2 separate regions of the Homo sapiens genome follow, and region 1 is linked to region 2. Evidence: promoter capture Hi-C in human tissues and cell types (Jung and others, 2019). All regions are on one chromosome and are shown on one strand. Each heading gives the region's core, a stretch centred on a gene start or on the middle of the fragment in contact. The rest is flanking DNA. Distances are from core to core; before and after follow the strand shown.

The links. The method cuts DNA at HindIII sites, captures the fragments that hold promoters and counts their contacts. A contact is called where the count stands out against the background at its distance.
Region 1: a fragment that was not itself captured here is called in contact with the fragment with the promoter of CNBP in region 2 in 1 of the 25 tissues and cell types used here (aorta).

Annotation. Positions count from the first base shown.
Region 1 is chr3:129,433,487-129,436,186 of GRCh38, forward strand. It overlaps MBD4 (methyl-CpG binding domain 4, DNA glycosylase), which reads right to left. Exons shown (of 8, transcript NM_001276270.2): 4 at 576-650; 5 at 364-498. Among named protein-coding and RNA genes, the nearest start is that of MBD4, 5.1 kb to the right of the region's middle. The HindIII fragment of the contact is 4,141 bases long and covers 1-2,700 here.
Region 2 is chr3:129,181,281-129,187,733 of GRCh38, forward strand. It overlaps CNBP (CCHC-type zinc finger nucleic acid binding protein), which reads right to left and starts at 2,616. Exons shown (of 5, transcript NM_003418.5): 1 at 2,496-2,616. It overlaps LOC105374101 (a long non-coding RNA gene), which reads left to right and starts at 2,794. Exons shown (of 2, transcript XR_924469.3): 1 at 2,794-3,192. RefSeq lists an enhancer at 2,950-3,039. The HindIII fragment of the contact is 21,375 bases long and covers 1-6,453 here.

The DNA of each region.
Region 1 (2,700 bases), core at 1-2,500, 250 kb after region 2:
AGCTTTTAAATGATCAGATCAGCAGATAATGAGAGTAGAAGCATATAGAACACAAGGTACATTCAGTGAAAAAGATACTTTTAAACACACATGAAAGAGGGTGGAGAAACGTTAACTGATTTTCACTGATGATCAAAAAGAATTTGGAAGTATAAAATAAATAAAATCTACCTCTTTATTCTAAAAGGTCTGTTGGATGTCATCCAGTCTCATTTCCTCATAGGTGAAGAGTTTAAGGGTGAAGGGGGAATGCCCTATCCCAGGTGACACACTCAAAATGGACTTTGAACCCAGGCCTCAATTCAGTGCTTTCTCCCTACCACACTGTCTCTACTAAGACAAAGATGATAATAATCCCCAAACCTGAGGTCCGATTGAGAAATATAGTAGCGATGAGAAGCTTCCATGGATCATGAAAAAGTGTTTCTTGAACGAGATTAAAAGGTGACCGAGGAGGTGTCCATTTCTTAAAGGCTTTACGTCGTGGGGGGCTAAGAGCTAAACAAACATAGTGCATCAGAATTGAAAACCCAAAATGGAATTAGAATTTGCTGTTCTGATTGGGAAAGGGATACCTTCTTTGTTATATTTGCTGGAAAAATACAGGCTTGTTTTCCTTCTTTCTATCTGTGTTCGTGGGATGGTATCTTCTGAAAAGGAAAAGTAAACACTTTATGGAGTCTATGGTTTAGCTTAAAGCAATATTGAGGGATGCAAATAATAATATCAACACTATTACAAAGCATGCCAGGCACTATTCTAAGCCCTTTACATAAATACCCAATTAATCTAACTAATGACCCATGAACTTGGTACTATTTTTATCTCCACTTTACAGATAAGGACATTGAGGCACAGAGAAGCTAAGTAACTTGCTCAAGATCACACAGATACTAAGTGTCCCAGCTAAAATTCAAATCCAGACAGTCTGGCTCCTGAGTCCTCACCTTTAACCACTCTGTGACACTAGTTCTTTATGACTTATGTTCAGAGTTTATAGTATTGAAAAATTAAAGGCAGTATGGAATATTTTAAATTACGATGCATTTGTATAATGTGGTCATTAAAGTATTTTTTAGACTATTGTGAATATTTTCCTATTAACTTCTAAATGAAAAAGCAAGAGTCTACATATGATCCCAATTTTATAAAAAAGGGGAAACATATATAAATAACAATACAGAAGTTAAGAATGAAATAAGCCAAAATGATATAATGGTTGTTGCCAAGTGCTAATTTTTCTTTCCTTCTTTACTTTTCTGTATTTTCCAAAATTTCTGCAGTGAACACTTACTTTTACGCTTACCAAAAAAAGGGATACAGACAAAACAGAATCTGCAGAAAAACCTACAATTTGAACCCTAGAACACCTGAGACAACTACCTATTGAGAACCTCTATCTATTGGGAACCAGTGTTATCAGACTTCTCAAATTTCTAAAATCACATGTAATACTCCTTAACCATACCCTCGCAATTTGAATATCAGTTAATAATACCTTGCATTTGTATAGCATCTTTTTCACTTCTCATTTTACAATATTTTTGATGTGAAAAACAGGACTAGTCAGGATGGTTACCTCTATTTTACAGATGAAGAAAGTGAAGCTTCTAAATGAAGCAATCATCCCAAAATGATACTGGGATTGACTATAAACTGGAACAAGTATCCAGGTCTCCAGATAATTAGACTACTGTTTTTTCGCTATTTTAGTTTGAGTAGGTAAAGCCCAGTAGAGAGTAAAAAAAAAAAAGAACAAAGGAAACTGCTCTGACTGCTCTGATTTGACAACTTTTTCTGTGGGCTCCTATGAATAATTACTAGTCTCCTTTATGCCAGGTTTACTTGGCAATTTCTAGCTAAGCCAATGGGTGTCTTCACTATTTCATGGACACCTCGTACTAAGAGTACTTCATCTCATGTTGAGAACTAGACTCTTACCACAAAAAAAAGTTTTTAATATTTGCCCATTTTGCTAGCAATAAATCTACATAAACCTCAAAGCTTTCTTCAAGAAGCTCAGTGTCTAGGACACAGACTTGAAGAATTCTTATGCAGTTCCTAGGTATATATGGCCATCTTGTGTTAAAGGCAGAGAAACTCCAGGCACAGAAAAGACATAAAATCATGGGTAGAACTGGGAACAAGAATCAAACCTAATCTCCTGCTTCACAAATTTCTCCAGGCTGTTTCCCCACAGGAGTTTAAGTAAAATTATTATTCTTTAAAGGAGTTATTCATTATACCATAATGGCATAATGAATAACTAATACAGGGCTGCTCAAAAGGTCTCCCTTTTATCTCTTATTCACTGAGGTATTATAAAGACAAAACTGCTAAGTTCTGAATTCTGTATTAAGAGCATATTACAAATAATAGATGAACTATGTGATTATACTTTTGAATTATTTAGAGCTCTAAAGCATTTTAGAGAAGCATTACATTAAAATAGAAGATAAAAATGACTATGATATATACAAAATTAAATTGGAAGTCACACTTAGTAGTAAGTATCAGGAGGGGTGTGAAGACACCAACTATTCTCCACTCATTTATGTATATAAGAAGCCTTCCCTAAATTTTTCACAAGTGAAGGCTTTTAATTTTCCTTCAAGTTTTAAGATTACTGGCTGGAAAGAGGATGGGAAGAAGGGAAAGCACTGCTGAGGAGGAGAGTCCCAGCTGCTGCACCAGGGAGAG
Region 2 (6,453 bases), core at 1,366-3,865:
TCATAAATCATGTAACAAAACACATTTATACTTTAAAAAAGACATCTCCCTGCCTGTTCCAGATGTTCAAATGCCAGTTTAAGAAAAACCTGGCCAGGCGCGGTGGCTCCTGCCTGTAATCCTAGCACTTTGAGAGGCCGAGGGAGTCGGATCACAAGGTCAGGAGTTCGAGACCAGCCTGGCCAACATGGTGAAACCCCGTCTGTACTAAAATACAAAAACTAGCTGGGTGTGGCGGCGGGCGCCTGTAATCCCAGCTACTTCGGAGGCTGAGGCAGGAGAATCGCTTAATCCGGGAGGCGGAGGTCGCAGTGAGCCGAGATCGCGCCACTGCACTCCAGCTTGGGCGACAGAGTGAGACTCCGTCTCAGAAAAAAAAAAAGAAAAACCCCTGGTCTTCCACTGATTTGGTTCAAAATATTTTACAGACTGCACCATCTGAAATACATTACCTCTCCTGTTACCAATATGAAAAAAAAGAGGACCTTTGGTTCCTCAGAAAAACACAAACTGTTATTTTTTTAAAGAAAAACTTATCAAGAGATGAAATCGGAAAAACTTAAGTCTTTAATTCTGCCCTTGGGAATGTAATAAATTATTCCTTTTATATTCCAATACACAAAGAACTCTTGTAGACAAGAATCAGGCTCAACAAACTAAAAACAGCATGTACCTAGGATCCTGGCAGTTTACAGGTGTTTGATTATCCTTAACCAGAGTAACTCATTAGAAGCATTTAAAACTATTTAGGAGGGGGGAGGGGGAAGCCCAGGAGATAAGTACTATATCTCTTATCTTTTTGAAACCCTCAAAGCTCTACACTCCAGTTATACTGCTTGAACAAACAAATAACATAAAATTGCTAATTTAAATTCGAATGGAAATAGTAACTGGTTACGTTTCACTCCAAAATTGGGTCAAACAATAGGAAAGGGGGAAAAATCTACTTTTAAAAATGTAATTTAAAAGCAAGATGGGGATATTCATTAGACCTCCTTCACTTTGAGAAAGACAAAAAACAAATTCAGTTTTGGCTTATCTCACCTGAGTCCTTCTGAATAATGCCTGAAACACACTAGCTAAAATCACAGACGATTACTGAGCAATGTTCTCTTTTTACAAGACCCCCAAGACCAGAAACAGTCACTTCCTTTGGAAGTGCCCTGTGGCTGAGGCCATATGGTTAACATGTGGGAACAAGCACAAGCCTTACCCATAATAAAATCAACACCTAAACCCAAATGTGGACCATTATGCCATTCTAAAACAGGTTCTCACGATATGGAAAAATCTAGATGGAGGGGAGCTAGTTGAATTTCGTGTCTCGTTTGTAATTACATCTGTTTCATTAATCCAAGAAATGATGCAGACTACCGCCCGCTGCTGTGGTTTTGGAGGTTTGACAAATTCGTGTTTTTTCTGGTAATGGCGCTTTTAAAGGATCCCAGCAACTTAAATAGTGTTAACTCTTGGAATGTGAGCCCCATCAGCCCCTTTTGGAATGGTAATGTAACACAAGCAACTTAGTATTTAAATGACGATAAAAATTCAAGAATCGGAAAACTATCAAGGATAGGGAGTATAAACTCTAAAAGCTCCCAAGTCTTCCAGCAGTCTCGCCACTCCAAACACAAAGGCTTCTTCAGGAACCCTTTGTTGTTGTTTGTTTGTTTGTTTGTTTGTTTTTTTAAGACGGAGTCTCTCTCTGTTGCCCATGCTGGAGTGTAGTGGCGCGATCTCGGCTCACCACAACCTCGGCCTCCGGGGTTCACGCGATTCTCCTGTCCAGCCTCCCGAGCTGCTGGGACTACATGCGCCCGCCACCATGCCCGGCTAATTTTTTATTTTTAGTACAGACCAACTTTCACCATATTGGTCAGGCTGGTCTCGAACTCCTGACCTCGTGATCCGCCCGCCTGGGACTCTCAAAGTGCTGGGATTACAGGCGTGAGCCACCGCGCCCGGCCTAAGAACCCTTTTCTAAGGCCCCCAAAACCCTTGGCACATGGCCCGCCAGGCGCACGACCCCAGCACATGGCCTGCACGACTATACCCACCCCATCCCCCCTTCATCCGCAGCCGGGAGCCTTTCCCCACCACACGGACTCCTTCCAGTGAGTTCCCGCCAAATCCACCCTCGGTCCCTCATTCCGCGACCCTCGAAGCGTCAGGGCCTCGGCCCCAAGGGCGCACGGGCGGGCCTCCTCTGCCCTAAGCCTGCGGCCTGGGGTGCGGCCGTGGCGCCGAAAGACCCGCATGCTCGGCGACCCAGCTTTCCAGGACGAAGAAAGGACAGAAGTGTCGTCCGACAGCGGTGCGCCAGAAACCCGGGTCCGAGGCGGCGGCAGCAGCCGAGCTTCCCGCCTGACGCAGCAGAGGCGCAGGCCAAAGTGCGGCCGCCATCGCCACCTCGCCGCTCCCTACCCTCTCTGTCCGCCACAGACCCGACCCGCACTGCGGCTCCGTCAGCGCCGGGCCCCTCCCCCAGCCCTCACCTTCCGCGTCGGAGCGGGCCCGCAGCGGCGGAGACTCGGACGCAGGCCTGGGGAAGACGGCTCGCAAGGTAGAGGCTGTTTATTTTGAGGGTCCTTGCCTGCGCCACACGCGGGTCTGCACACGGCCCCACATACGCCGCTGCGCACGGCTCTCCTCCGCCTCGCCCACGCGGCCAATCAGCGCGCGGGGTTCGGCAGTCCAATCAGAGCCGCCCGCGGCAGGGCCGCCCACTAGAGCGCGGCGCGGGGCGGGTGTTTCTGCGCGCAGCGTCTTTTCCCGCCGTGCCCCGCGCGCGGCCTTTCACGCCGGGATCCGGGTCCCGGTGCTTCTCGGTTCATTCCCAGCTGGGTCCGGGCCCGGCCAGACTGGGTGGAAATCTGGCTGACCTTGGTGGTCTGTCTTGGCCAGCTGGAGCAAAGGGATGCCAGGGGACGGGTCTCGGTGCAGTGACTGCCATTAGCTTGGGGCCGCAGAAAGTTTCTCCCCTTTCTCGGGCTCCTGCCAGGCCCTTGGCTTTCAGAGCCAGGCCCGATTTCTAGATAACATTTAAGTTTGCAGAAAAGGGGATGCCAAGTCACGGTGGTCACGGCTGTGGGATGCAGCCTCTGAGATTTGTATTAATTTTTGTGAGCCGGGGAAAGGCCTTGCTGCTTTCTCCGCCAGGACTGATGTGTCTTCCCAAGATGAAAGTGCCTGGTAAGGGCGAGGGGCCTCCCTGGGAAGGTCATGAGCATGTAAGGTAATGGGGCCTAGACTGTGACTTTTGGCACGTTTATGAGTGACATCCCCCGGGAGGGCAAGGATAACCATTTGACCTGGTCTGTCATATTCAGGAATAGACTTCAGTTTAGTTGTGGTATTTTCTCCAAAAGAGATTTGTGTATATAGCCCTAGATAGTCTTGTCAAGATTAAACCCAATTTAAACTGTTAACTATAAAATATTTTAGAATTTTGTCTCATTCTAGAATGGCTTTATTCGAAACAAAAAAAAAGGAAGAGTCCCAAGTTTCGTCTCAGTGAAACCTGCCAGTTCAACACTATGATTTATTTTTCTTTTTTTCTTTAATTTTTTTTTTTTTTAAGAGTAGGGTCTTGCTCTGTCGCTGGGTTTACAGGCATAAGCCACCAATCCCAAATCCCGGGGCTATGATTTTTGAAATCATGTTCGTGAGAAGGCAGAGCACATGTGTTGAGAGTCAGACTTTAAACCTGGGTTCAAATCATTAGTGCTTAATCATTGTAAAGCAGTTAGGAGGTTGCGTTCAACATAGCAATTATCAAAGAATGAATGTATAACTTTAAAGACCAATGATATTTTAAACTTTTTTTTTTTTTTGAGAACGGAGTCTCACTCCGTTGCCCAGGCTGGAGTGCAATGGCACGATCTCAGCTCACTGCAACCTCCGCCTCCTGGATTCAAGTGATTCTCCTGCCTCAGCCTCCCCAGTAGCTGGGATTATAGGCATGCGCCACCACGCCCGGCTAATTTTGTATTTTTAGTATAGGCGGGGTTTCTCCATGTTGGTCAGGCTGGTCTCAAACTCCCGACCTCAGGTGATCCGCCCACCCAAAGTGGTGATCGTCCTCCCAAAGCACTGGGATTACAGGCATGAGCCACCGCGCCTGGCCGAACTTTTTAAATTTATTTATTACTATTTTTTGAGACAGGGTCTCCCTCTGTTGCCCAGGCTGGAGTGCTGTCTCAGCTCACTGCAACCTCCGCTTCCCATGTTTGACCAATTCTGCCTCAGCCTCCTGAGTAGCTGGGACTGCAGGCGCCCACCACCACGCCTGGCTAATTTTTGTATTTTTAGTAGAGATGGGGTTTCATCATGTTGGCCAGGCTGGTCTTGAACTCCTGGCCTCAAGCGGTGCTAGGCCAAAGTGCTAGGATTACAGGTGTGAGCCACTGCACCCAGTGCCCCCAAAGTGCTAGGATTACAGGTGTGAGCCACTGCACTCAGCCTTAAACATTTTTTTAATTAAAGCAACCTAAGGTAAAATTTTTTAACCAAATTTAACCCATTCCCAATCAGATTGAATAAATGCCTAGCAGCTTATGTGTTGTGCTAAAACACGATATATTATCTGCCAATAAAAAACAGTATTTTGTATTTATATAGTTTTATTACCAAGAAGCTTACTCAGCTTTATGATTTCCCCTTTGTAATCTGATTAACCTTCATAGTATCTTGAAGTAATGTATAGTGTAGCAATCAGACACTTAGGTAGTGACTTCGTGAGCTCTGACAATGAGTCAATATAATGCAAGAGGCTATGTATGAAGTCCAACCTGGGTGCGTCCACACCACACCAAGAGGACAAGTTAAAATTACCATATGGCCAAAAATTAATATTTTCTGACTTATTTTTGTTTACCATTCCAACCATAGTACTGTATAAAATGTTTGCTATTCATTATAGACCCAGGAATGGAATATTCCTAATATTAAAACAAAAATTTCAACAGCTATAGAAAATGAAAGTGAGTGTGAGATAGAGATACTGGACATAATGTTCTATAGGTTTTAAAAGACTTAAGTAGAAGAAATGGAAACAATGTCTTTACTTCTTGGCAGTGGAGTGGTAACAGCTAATGGCTCTTTCTACCTGGCATGCAGCTTCCTGTAACGACTATTATTAATAGAGCCAGGCTGATCGTGAGGCGCCAGAAAAGGTGTATGGTGGAATTTAACTACAATGGCTTGTATTGCCTGGATATACCCTTTGGTATGCCTATTTTACTAGAAATGTTTGAAAATAGGAAAAAGCTCACTCAAAAGATAAGCTGCCAGTGGGACTTGAAGAGGCTCCCATTACATTCCTCTTCCCTGGAGATGTTTTATTCCCCTCCTCTCCTCCAGTGTTCAGTCTCATGCTCAGCATTGCAAGGGTTACAAAGGTGACTACTTAAGACACAGAGTTTGCCCTTGAAGAACTTGCAGGATAACAAGGGCCATAAGAAAGTATTAAGTGTCGGCTGGGTTCGGTGGCTCACGCCTGTAATCCAGCACTTTGGGAGGCCGAGGCGGGCGGATCACGAGGTCAGCTGATCAAGACCATCCTGGCTAACACGGTGAAATCCTGTCTACTAAAAATACAAAAAATTAGCTGGTCGTGGTGGCGGGGACCTATAGTCCAAGCTACTCGAGAGGTTGAGGCAGGAGAATCGTTTGAACCTGAGAGGCAGAGCTTGCAGTGAGCCGAGATCACGCCACTGCACTCCAGCCTGGGTGACGGAGCAAGACTCAGTCTCAAAAAAAGAAAAGAAAAAAAAAACAACTTCCCAGCACTTGGGAGGCCGAGGTAGGTGGATCACCTGAGGTCAGGAGTTTGAGAGCAGCCTGGGCAACATAGTGAAAACTTGTCTCTACTAATAACACAAAAATTAGCCGAGTGTGGTGGTGGGCACCTGTAATCCCAGCTACTTGGGAAGCTGAGGCAGGAGAATCGCTTGCACCTGGGAGCAAGAGATTGGGCCACTGCACTCCAGCCTGCACAACAGAGGGAGACTCTGTCTCAAAAAAAAAAAAAAAAAAAAAGTCCGGGCACGGTGGATCACGCCTATAATCCCAGCACTTTGGGGGGCCGAGGCAGATGGGTCATGAGGTCAGGAGATCGAGACCATCCTGGCTAACAAGGTGAAATCCCGTCTCTACTAAAAATACAAAAAATTAGCATTAAGTATCCTGAGAGAAGACCAGATAAAATGCTATGATTCAGCATTATTCCTAAAATGGGTACCAGTTGAGCAATACCTGCCAACTCTTAATTTCTGCTTAAATGCCCAACTGCATAGTACATGCTGTTAAATTGAGGGGATAGGTGATATCATGTAAACCCATGTCTTGTCCCTGCCAGCAAGGAAATTGTGCTCTGTGACTTGACTTGGAAAGTATGTAACTAAGACTGAGGAGAATAAATTGATGTTTTCACCTCTCGTATTTGCTTCTGAA